Regions from separate parts of the Homo sapiens genome. Here region 1 is linked to region 2. Evidence: promoter capture Hi-C in human tissues and cell types (Jung and others, 2019). All regions are on one chromosome and are shown on one strand. The core of a region is centred on a gene start or on the middle of the fragment in contact, and the rest is flanking DNA. Distances in the headings are between cores, read along the strand shown. Region 1 has its middle 82 kb from the start of TERB2. Region 2 holds the start of SORD (sorbitol dehydrogenase).

Region 1 (4,605 bases), core at 1,745-4,244, 150 kb before region 2:
AACACTTGGACACACGGTGGGGAACATCACACACGGGGGCCTGTCATGGGGTGGGGGGCAGGGGGAGGGATAGCATTAGGAGAAATACCTAATGTAAATGACGAGTTGATGGTTGCAGCAAACCAACATGGCACATGTAACCTATGTAACAAACCTGCATGTTGTGCACATGTACCCTAGAACTTAAAGTATAGTAATAATAAAAAATATAAATCATCCACATTCTGAAGGACCAGAGTTCCTGGACTTGGGAAGTGGCCTACATCTTGGGCCAGTGCCTGACCAAACAGATGAGGGCTATCCCTAAACCCTTGAGGCAAGACTGTCCACGTAAATTGGGATGTGTGGTCTGTGGGATCCTCAAAGGCAAAGAGAAACTGGGAGTCAGAGTGCAGGAGAATGCAGAAGAAGGTATCCTTGAGGTCCAGAATAGTGAACCATTCTGCTTCCTCTGGTATTTGAGAGAGCAGGGTATAGGAGTTGGCTACAACTGGATATAGAGAAATTACTGCCTCATTGATGAGACTAAGATCTTGCACTAGTCTCCACTGAACATTTGCTTTTTGTACTCCTAGAATTGGAGTGTTGCAGGGCCTATTGCATTTTCTTACTAAGCCTTGAGCTTTTAAATGTCTAACAATATACTGTAAACCTTTATGAGCTTTGGGCCTTAAGGGATATTGCCTTTGATAAGGAAAAGTGGTGGGGTCTTTTAGCCTGATTCGAACTGGCTGGGCATTTTTTGCCCTTCTGAATTGTCCTTCCAATGCCCAGACTTCAGAGTTGATTCCCTCCTCAAGTAGGAGACAACAAATGGGTAACTTGTCCCCCATATTCATATCATATCAGTAATAGCTCCAGCTTTGGCTAACACGTCCTTCCCTAATAAGAGTGTGGGACTTTCAGGCATAACAAGAAAGGCATGTGAAAAGAGCAAAGTCTCTGAATTACAACTGAGGAGGTGGGAGAAATACCTGGTTACAGGCTGTCCCAGGATTCCTCGGATGGTAATGGACTTTGAGGACAGTGGTCCGGGGCAGGAGAGTAACACTGAGAAGGCAGTGTCAGTGTCCAGGAGGAAATCAATTCACTGGCCCTCAATGGTTAAAGTTACCCGAGTCTCAGAGAAGGTGATGACATGAGCTGGCACTTGCCTTGGGCATCCTCAGTCCTGTTGTTGGATCATCTGGTTGGGGGTTCTGGCCTAGAGAACCTTTGTCCTCCAGGACATCTTCCAGTGATTGCCTTGGCATAGTGGACATGGGCGAGAGGGTGGCTTGTTTCTCATTGGACAATCTTTTTTGAAGTGTTCTTGCAAACCACACTGATAACAAGCCCTACCAGGTTATTGGCCTTCTCCATTTTCTCTCCTCTCTGAACCACCAAGGTTTGTTCATGTGAGGGCCATGAGTTAGGCTGTGGCCTTTCTCTGATCTCGCTTTTCCTTCTCAGCCTGTTCCTCTTGGTCCCTGTGATAGAACACCAAGGTTGCCAGCTTTAATAATGCCTCCAGATTTTGTTCAGGGCCCAGGGCTCACTTTTGGAGCTTTCTCGTGATATCTGCAGCTGGTTGCATAATAAACTTATCCTTTTGGATTAATTGACCCTCAAAGGAGTCAGAGGACAGGGGAGTATATTTTCTTAAGGCCTCCCATAGCCACTCGAGGAAGGTGGATGGATTTTCTTCCTTTCCCTGAGTTATGGTGGACATCATTGAATAATTCATGGGCTTTTTCCTAATTCTCTTCGTCATTCTAGAACACAGGTTAACAGATGTTTGCGACTCCAGTTCCCATGATCTGAGTCAAGGTCCCAGTGGGGATCAATACTGGTGATGGCTTGCTGACTGGTAGGGAATTTGTCCCTTTCTTTGGCTGTCATTCTATCATTTACTTGACTAAGATACCAAGTATCTCCAAACTCTCAGGCTGCAGCTAAACCTGCATTCTTTTCATTAAAGGCCAGGGTTTGATCTAACAATAGCATGACATCTCTCCAAGTGAGGTCGAAGTTTTGCCCTAGACCCTGTAGGACATCTATATACCTATCAGGATCATCTGAAAACTTCCCCAGATCTACCTTGATCTGCTTTAAATCAGAGAGGGAGAAGGGGACATGTACCCAGGTTGGGCCAAATTCCCCTCCCCCTACAGCTTGAAAAGAACATAACCAATAGCCCAGAGGTTTTTGTGGCCCCTTGGAGATTTCTTTGCTTGTTTCCTTCTGGGTGGGGGAGATTAGAGGAGGCTCATCATTAATAGGAAGAGGAGCTGTAGGGAGGCTAGGATATGGGGGTAAGCTGAGAGGTCCTCCTGTGGAATGTAGGTTGCAAGCTTTGCATAGTTGTGGATTGTCCTTCAGTGAAAAGAAAGCTTGGACATAAGGTATTTCACTCCATTTGCCTTCCATCTTACAGAAAAAGTCAAGCTGCAGGATAATACTGTAATTTATACTTTCCACAGGTGGCCATTTTTCCCTATCAGAGAGAGAATATTGGGACCAGGCCACAGTGCAGAAAAAAATAAGCCTCTTCTTTTTCAGGGCTTGCAGGTCAAATTCATCCCAATGGCTTAGGATGCATTTCAAGTGTGAGCCTGTTTGATGCCTGAGTGTTTCCCATCTAAAAGAAAAAACTGCCCATGATTTTGGTTCATTTTTTTATCCCTGACCAAAAACTTGCAACGGTCCCTGGACCCTGCTGTTCAGAATAGTTGTGCTCACTGAAGCAGCAGCAGAAACACTAGTTTTCCTCCTAGACGACAAAGAGGACTGAGGAAGGTCAGATTTAGTGGCCCTTACCAATGCATTCTCGAAAACCTGCACCCTTGCCTTTCCTCTTAGACCACAAAGAGGACCGAGAAAAATCGGATTCAGTGGCCCTTACACATTCTCGAAAACCTGTTAGTTAAGAGTCCTAAGCATTTTCTTCTGTTGGTATTGTGACCTTACCCTTGTCCTATAGAGAAGATATGCCTCAAAATGGAGTGGAGGGCCATACTTGAAGGAGGGAAGGGATCGCCAGGGTTGTAAGAGTGATGCCTTTTGTCCTCACTTCTCATCATATGAATAGGAAGGATATCCCCCCTCCCAATTTTGGAATCTATAATTTCTGAGGCTCTGCATATCTTAGCTTTGGGAATAGCCTTTGTTAGGCCTACTCGTCTGTAGAGGGATCCTAAAATTCCAGATAGTCCCTCCGAGATAGGGCTTCGGGCAATAATTATGTCTTTCTGATTGGTGAGCCTGGGTGCCTCAAAAAGGGAACAGAGTCCCGAAATTTATACAAAAATAATTCTTATAGGAGAAACTTGAAAAGCACCAGGGACAGGGAGTGGTTTTTAGAAGCAGGATTACCCTTGGAGAACAGAGGCAGGAGGAAGTTTGTCTGACAGGCATTAGGACCCAGGAGGCAAGGATCAGGATAGATAGGATAGATGGACAAGTCTCACTTGGGTGATGTAACTTTGAGAGTCTGCTCATGGCTGCAAGGTCAACCAACTTTTGTTAGGACCCCAGAGTGAATGGCTTTCCTCTCTGTTGACCCTTAGCTCAGCCCGGAAGTACAGGAGAAGCAGAAGCTGTTTCCAGGCAAACCAATGCTCCTAACTCCAAAGAGTTGGGGGGTTTTTAGAGAGCCCTTTCCTAGAAAGCCTGACACCCGTGTCTTATTCTGGGGGCCACACTAGTTCCTTCTAACTGGCTGACAAGTGCTTGGTGTTTAGCCCCCGAATTCTAAGGAAAAATAGGACAGAATAGCAAGTGAAATGGTACTCACTGCATGATGCTATCCTGGATGAGCCCCCAAAATATGTCCAGAGTTGGTTGACTGTGGGTTCATGGCCTTGCTGACTTCAAGAATGAAGCTGCAGACCTTTGCGGTGAGTGTTACAGCTCTTAAAGGTGACACCAACCCAAAGAATGAGCACTAGCAAGGCTTATTTTGAAGAGCAAAAGAACAAAGCCTCCACAGCATGGAAGGGGATCCGAGCAGCTTGCTGCTGCTGGCTGGGTGTGGCCAGCTTTTATTCCCTTATTTGTCCCCTCCTATGTTCCATTTCTATCCTATCAGAAACCCTTTTTTCAATCCTCCCTGTGATTGGCTACTTTGAGGATCCTGCTGATTGGTGCATTTTACAAAGCACTGATGGGGCATTTTACAATCCCCTTGCTAGCTACAGAATGCTGATTGGTGTTTTTTTACAGAGCACTGATTGGTGCATTTTACAATCCTCTTGTAAGATAGAAAAGTTCTTTAAGTCCCCATTTGGCCCAGGAAGTCCAGCTGGCTCCACCTCTCACCAGCACTTTGGGAGGCCAAGGCAGGCATATCACCTGAGGTCAGGATTTTGAGACCAGCCTTGCCAACGTGGCAAAGCCCTGTCTCTACTAAAAATACAAAAATTAGCCGGGCATGGTGGTGGGCACCTGTAATCCCAGCTACTTGGGAGGCTGAGGCATGAGAATCTCTTGAACCCAGAAGGCAGAGGTTGCAGTAAGCCAATATCATGCCACCGCACTCCAGCCTGGGTAACAGAGTGAGACTCTGTCTCAAAAAAACAGAAAACAAAAAAACTAAGTTCCCCACAAAGTTATTTCAGACTTTGC
Region 2 (4,602 bases), core at 160-2,659:
ATATTGGGGAGGGGGGACTGTAAGGGAATGAAATCCTGAGCATTATCCTCAAAGGAGGGAGGGGCCTTATAGACTTAGGCCTATCTAGAAGCGCCTCTCTCCTCAGAGAGTAAAACCTCACTGTTTCTCAGAGGGCTGAGAGGCTTGAAGGAAGAGTTTGGGCAGAAACTCTGCTTTGAATAGAAGCAGCAGATCCAGTTGAGAGAAAGAGGTTCACAAATTCCATTTCATGGCTTTTTTTTTTTTAAAGACAGATTTTCACTCTTGTTGCCCAGGCTGGTGTTGAATGGCATGATCTCAGCTCACTGCAACCTCTGCTTCCCAGGTTCAAGCTATTCTCCTGTCTCAGCCTCCCGAGTAGCTGAGATTAAGGCGCATGCCACCATGCCCGGCTAATTTTTGTATTTTTAGTAGAGACGGGGTTTTCACCATATTGGTCAGGCTGGTCTCGAACTCCTGACCTCAGGTGATCCACCTGCCTCGGCTTCCCAAAGTGCTGGGATTACAGGCAAGAGCCACTGCGCCCGGCCTCATGTCTTTTTTATACTTAAGCACCAGGCCCATGTAATGATGCACGAATTCATTTACTCCTACTCGTGCCAGGCCCTTTCCTGGGGGCTGGAGACAAAGGGCCGACGTGGACGCTGCGTCATGGTAGCACCTGTCTCGCAAAGTGCACACCGTGCTCCACCCACAGCCTCAGCATTCTCGTTGCTAGGAATATGGACCCTCAGGCAGCACCTCAGACCTAGACCTACTGTATCAGAATCTCTGTGCTGGTCCTGAGAATGTGCATTCTCAACAGCGCCTCACATTCCCCACCCCAATTCTTCTGCAGCTAACGTTTGAGAGCGCTGGTCTGGTGCCTACTGCCTCTGCAGGCGGTTTTCAAGGCAGCCGTGTGTGCTTGCATGTGAGGCGGCAAAAACAGCGCGCTGCAGGGCCGGCGCGGTGGCTCACGCCTGTAATCCCAGCACTTTGGGAGGCGGAGGCGGGTGGATCACGAGGTCAGGATATCGAGACCATCCTGGCTAACACGGTGAAACCCCGTCTCTACTAAACAAAAATACGTGGTGGTGGGCGCCTGTAGTCCCAGCTATTCGGGAGGCTGAGGCAGGAGAATGGCTTGAACCCGGGAGGCAGAGCTTGCAGTGAGCCGGGATCGCACCACTGTACTCCAGCCTCGGCGACAAACAAACAAACAAACAAAAAAAACAGCGCGCTGCAGATGGAGCCAGCACCCGGGCTTCTCGCTCCCAGCCCCCTCCCGAAGCCCCGCCCCGCCTCCGGGTCTGGAGGAGGCTGGGAAGCCCCGCCCCTCCACGCTAGCGCCGCCCAGGCTGGCACAAAGGAGGAAGCCTAGTCCCGCCCCTGCGTGCGGCGCTTCTCCCAGGCCCCACCTTCCATCCAGTGCCCTGGACCCTCGGCTGGGTAGCGCCACCAGAGCGACCAAACGTCCCGCGCCTTCCAGGCCGCACTCCAGAGCCAAAAGAGCTCCATGGCGGCGGCGGCCAAGCCCAACAACCTTTCCCTGGTGGTGCACGGACCGGGGGACTTGCGCCTGGTAAGCTGGGAAGGAGGGTGGGAAGCATACCGATCCTGCCTCACTCTCCTCTGAGCCCAGCCATAGTCCTGGCTTCCCACTTCCAGCCTGGCGCCGGCCCCGCACCTTAAGCGCCCTGGCTGCCCAGATCCCAGCTGGTTCCCCTCGGGGTGTGGGGGCAGCAGGTAGTGGCTGTTGCGAAGGGCAGGGATCTAGTCGTGTGCCTCCCGGAACCTAGCCCCGTGGCTGGCACGTGGCCGGTGCCCAGGACGGTTGCAAACTGTTTGAATGAAGCTTTCTCTCTCCTTTGCCAGCTGCAGATTCATAGTCCAGCCTCTTGTCATTGACCTTTCCAAAGGAAATGCTAAGGCTGTCTGAATTATCGGGGCAGACCGTGCAGAGCAGAGAAAGGGGGGCCAGAGGACACTTAGAAACAGCAGAACTTGTATTTAACTCCCTTGCTTGGGACTGATAAACCTCCCTTGCAGGATTATGATGATCACAAGAGTACTCAGCACTTAGTACGTGCTCAGGAAGTGCCAGCTCCTTCTCCTTTCCTTCCAGTCTAGGCCTCCATCTCCAGAACCCCTGCTGTTCCCCTTGCCTGTGCCAGACTTGTGGATCTTGATAGCTCCCTTGTCTGTAAGGATCCTTCTCTCCCTAAGACCCTGTCTGGTTCACTTTCCAGCAGTTTTTCTTTCCAATCCCGTGCCTCTGTCCCTTTAGGAGCATTCTGTATGTGTGTCCTCTGCCTTAGACCCTGCCTTTTGCTCCCTGGCTTGTGGCACCAAAGTTTAGGAAGTGGCTGAGTCAGCAGCCTAGTCATGCCAAGCCTCCCTTGACAAAGTCCCTCTCAGATGGGCCTGGGATGGCAGTGGGTATGTGGGATGAGTGCCAGCCATCTCTGCTGCTCCCCTGTACCTCTTTTCCCTCAAAGTACATGCGTCAGTATGTAAACTGCAGTAATTCAGAAGCTTATCCAGGTTAGCAGTTCTTGACTATTTAAGAATCTGTGGTGTCCCCTCCACAGAATGCAAATAGACTGAGTTTGGCAACAATTTCAGACTGCTCAAGGACTCCCTTTAAGCCGCTCTAAGCCCCTCTATAGAACCCTTGTCCCAGCTGACTCTCCATCTCCTCAGTTGAAGAAAGTACCATACCCAAGGTGATAGGTTTTGTTAGTTAACAGAGCCACGACAAGGACTCAGATGTTCAGACTCCCCATTCTAGTGCTCATTCCACTCTTTGGAGCCTCCACCCAAGGTCCTGAATTAAAGTGAGGCTGTTAGTGTTTACTGTTGCAAATGCCAGATGGTATTATGAGTAAGGGAAAGTGGTCCAGCTCTACCCAGCTTGCAGAGTGATTTCCAACTCAGTACTTCATTCCACAAACATTCACTCATGAAAGGGTGCCTGCCATGTGCCAGGCACTGGGCTGAGGGCCCAGAAAGGAGGACACAGCCCCTGCTCCCAAGTTTACTGAGGGAGGCAGACAGATAAAGTCAACAATTATGACAGAGCCCGAGGGCTTTGATGGAGGCCTCAGAGAGAAAAGACGCCACAGGGAGGGGCCCTTGGCCCTCTATCTGCTCAGAGCCTGCTTAAAAGTCATGCACCTAAGGTGCAGAAACACAGTTAAGTTCTCCTTCATCTTACCTCAAACTCATGGTCTTCCACTGCTCAGGCAGACTACCTCTACTATGGTTCCGTAGACAAAGCTTTGAAGATTAGAGCAGCAGCGAACTAACCTTGATCTCATCAGCTTTGCATTAGAACCCACTCTCTGACTGGATTAGGGGCTAGGTTGGGGTGGCTGTAACCTGAAGTATCTAGAAAATATGATGGGCTAGAGAATTTCACCTTTGGTTGTGTGCTGGAACACTAGCTGGGTAAAAGAGTTCAGAGGAGGATTTAGGAAAACACCTAGGCTCAGTTTGAGAATGGGAAGTGGTAGCGTCATTTACTAGTCAGAGTAGATTAAAATGATGAGATCAGGTTTGAAAAGTTGAGTTTAAGATGTCTCTGGAGGCCAGGTGTGGTGGCTGATGCCTGTAATCCCAGCACTTTGAAAGGCCAAGGTAGGCAGATCGCTTGAGGTCTGGAGTTTGAGACCAACCTGGCCAACACGGTGAAACTGTCTCTACTATAAATACAAAAATTAGCTGGGTGTGGTGCCACATGCCTGTAATCCCAGCTACTTGGGAAGCTGAGAATCGCTTGAGTCTGGGAGTCAGAGATTGCAATGAACTGAGATCGTACCACTGCACTCCAGCCTGAATGACAGCAAAACTATGTCAAAAAAAAAAAAAAAAAAAAGATGTCTCTGGGACAGGACACAAGGTGCCTTTGAGAAATTTCCTTGGGTGCAGGGGTCTGGAGTGCAGGGATACTATCAGGGGTGGAAATGTAAACTCAGGAGTCCTTTGCTCCTCTACTGAGCAGTACTGCACTGCCCCGCCACCCAGGAGACATTTGGAAATGTGTCAGGGAGGCTTGGTTGTCACGATGACTGAGGAGCACTACTGCGGACTTTATTCAGTTCATAGTGCTATCTTGCACAACAAAGAGTTGTCCTGTCCCAAATAGTGCCCTATGGGGAATTATGGATGGCTGAGCTTGCCTGGGCTGAGTGAACCATGTAGAGTGAGAAGGAAAGAAGAGGAGGACATTACCCTGGAGAGAGCCCCAACACTGGAGGGGAAAGGGCAGAAAGAGTTGTCAGCAGAGGAGACCCACTGTGCTGCCTCAGGTGCACCTGCAGCTCAACACAGACCTTCTGGGCCCTCGCCACTCCTTCTCAGGCATGGTCTTCCACCAGCACCTCCACAGTGCCCAACCCAGACCCCGAGTGTGGTATCACTGCTCCTCCATCTTTTCCTTAAGACAAATAGGCTCAGTGGCTTGGGTTTGGGGTCAGTAGTAAACCAGAGATAGCAACTAGGAGGAACAATCCTGGGGAAGCTTTGAGGGGAACCACCCATTTTCCTCTCTGCAAGAGGACCAAAATGAAACCCAGAATTTCCTGGGCTTAATAAATTGTCAGCAAATGCATTTTGGGG

The links. The method cuts DNA at HindIII sites, captures the fragments that hold promoters and counts their contacts. A contact is called where the count stands out against the background at its distance.
Region 1: a fragment that was not itself captured here is called in contact with the fragment with the promoter of SORD in region 2 in 1 of the 25 tissues and cell types used here (lymphoblastoid cells).

The regions. Positions count from the first base shown.
Region 1 is chr15:44,872,093-44,876,697 of GRCh38, forward strand. It overlaps the pseudogene SORD2P. Among named protein-coding and RNA genes, the nearest start is that of TERB2, 82 kb to the right of the region's middle. The HindIII fragment of the contact is 5,830 bases long and covers 80-4,605 here.
Region 2 is chr15:45,021,786-45,026,387 of GRCh38, forward strand. SORD (sorbitol dehydrogenase) reads left to right here and starts at 1,410. Exons shown (of 9, transcript NM_003104.6): 1 at 1,410-1,564. The coding sequence starts at 1,499. RefSeq lists silencers at 1,190-1,359, 3,923-4,211 and an enhancer at 2,129-2,779. The HindIII fragment of the contact is 3,784 bases long and covers 1-2,177 here.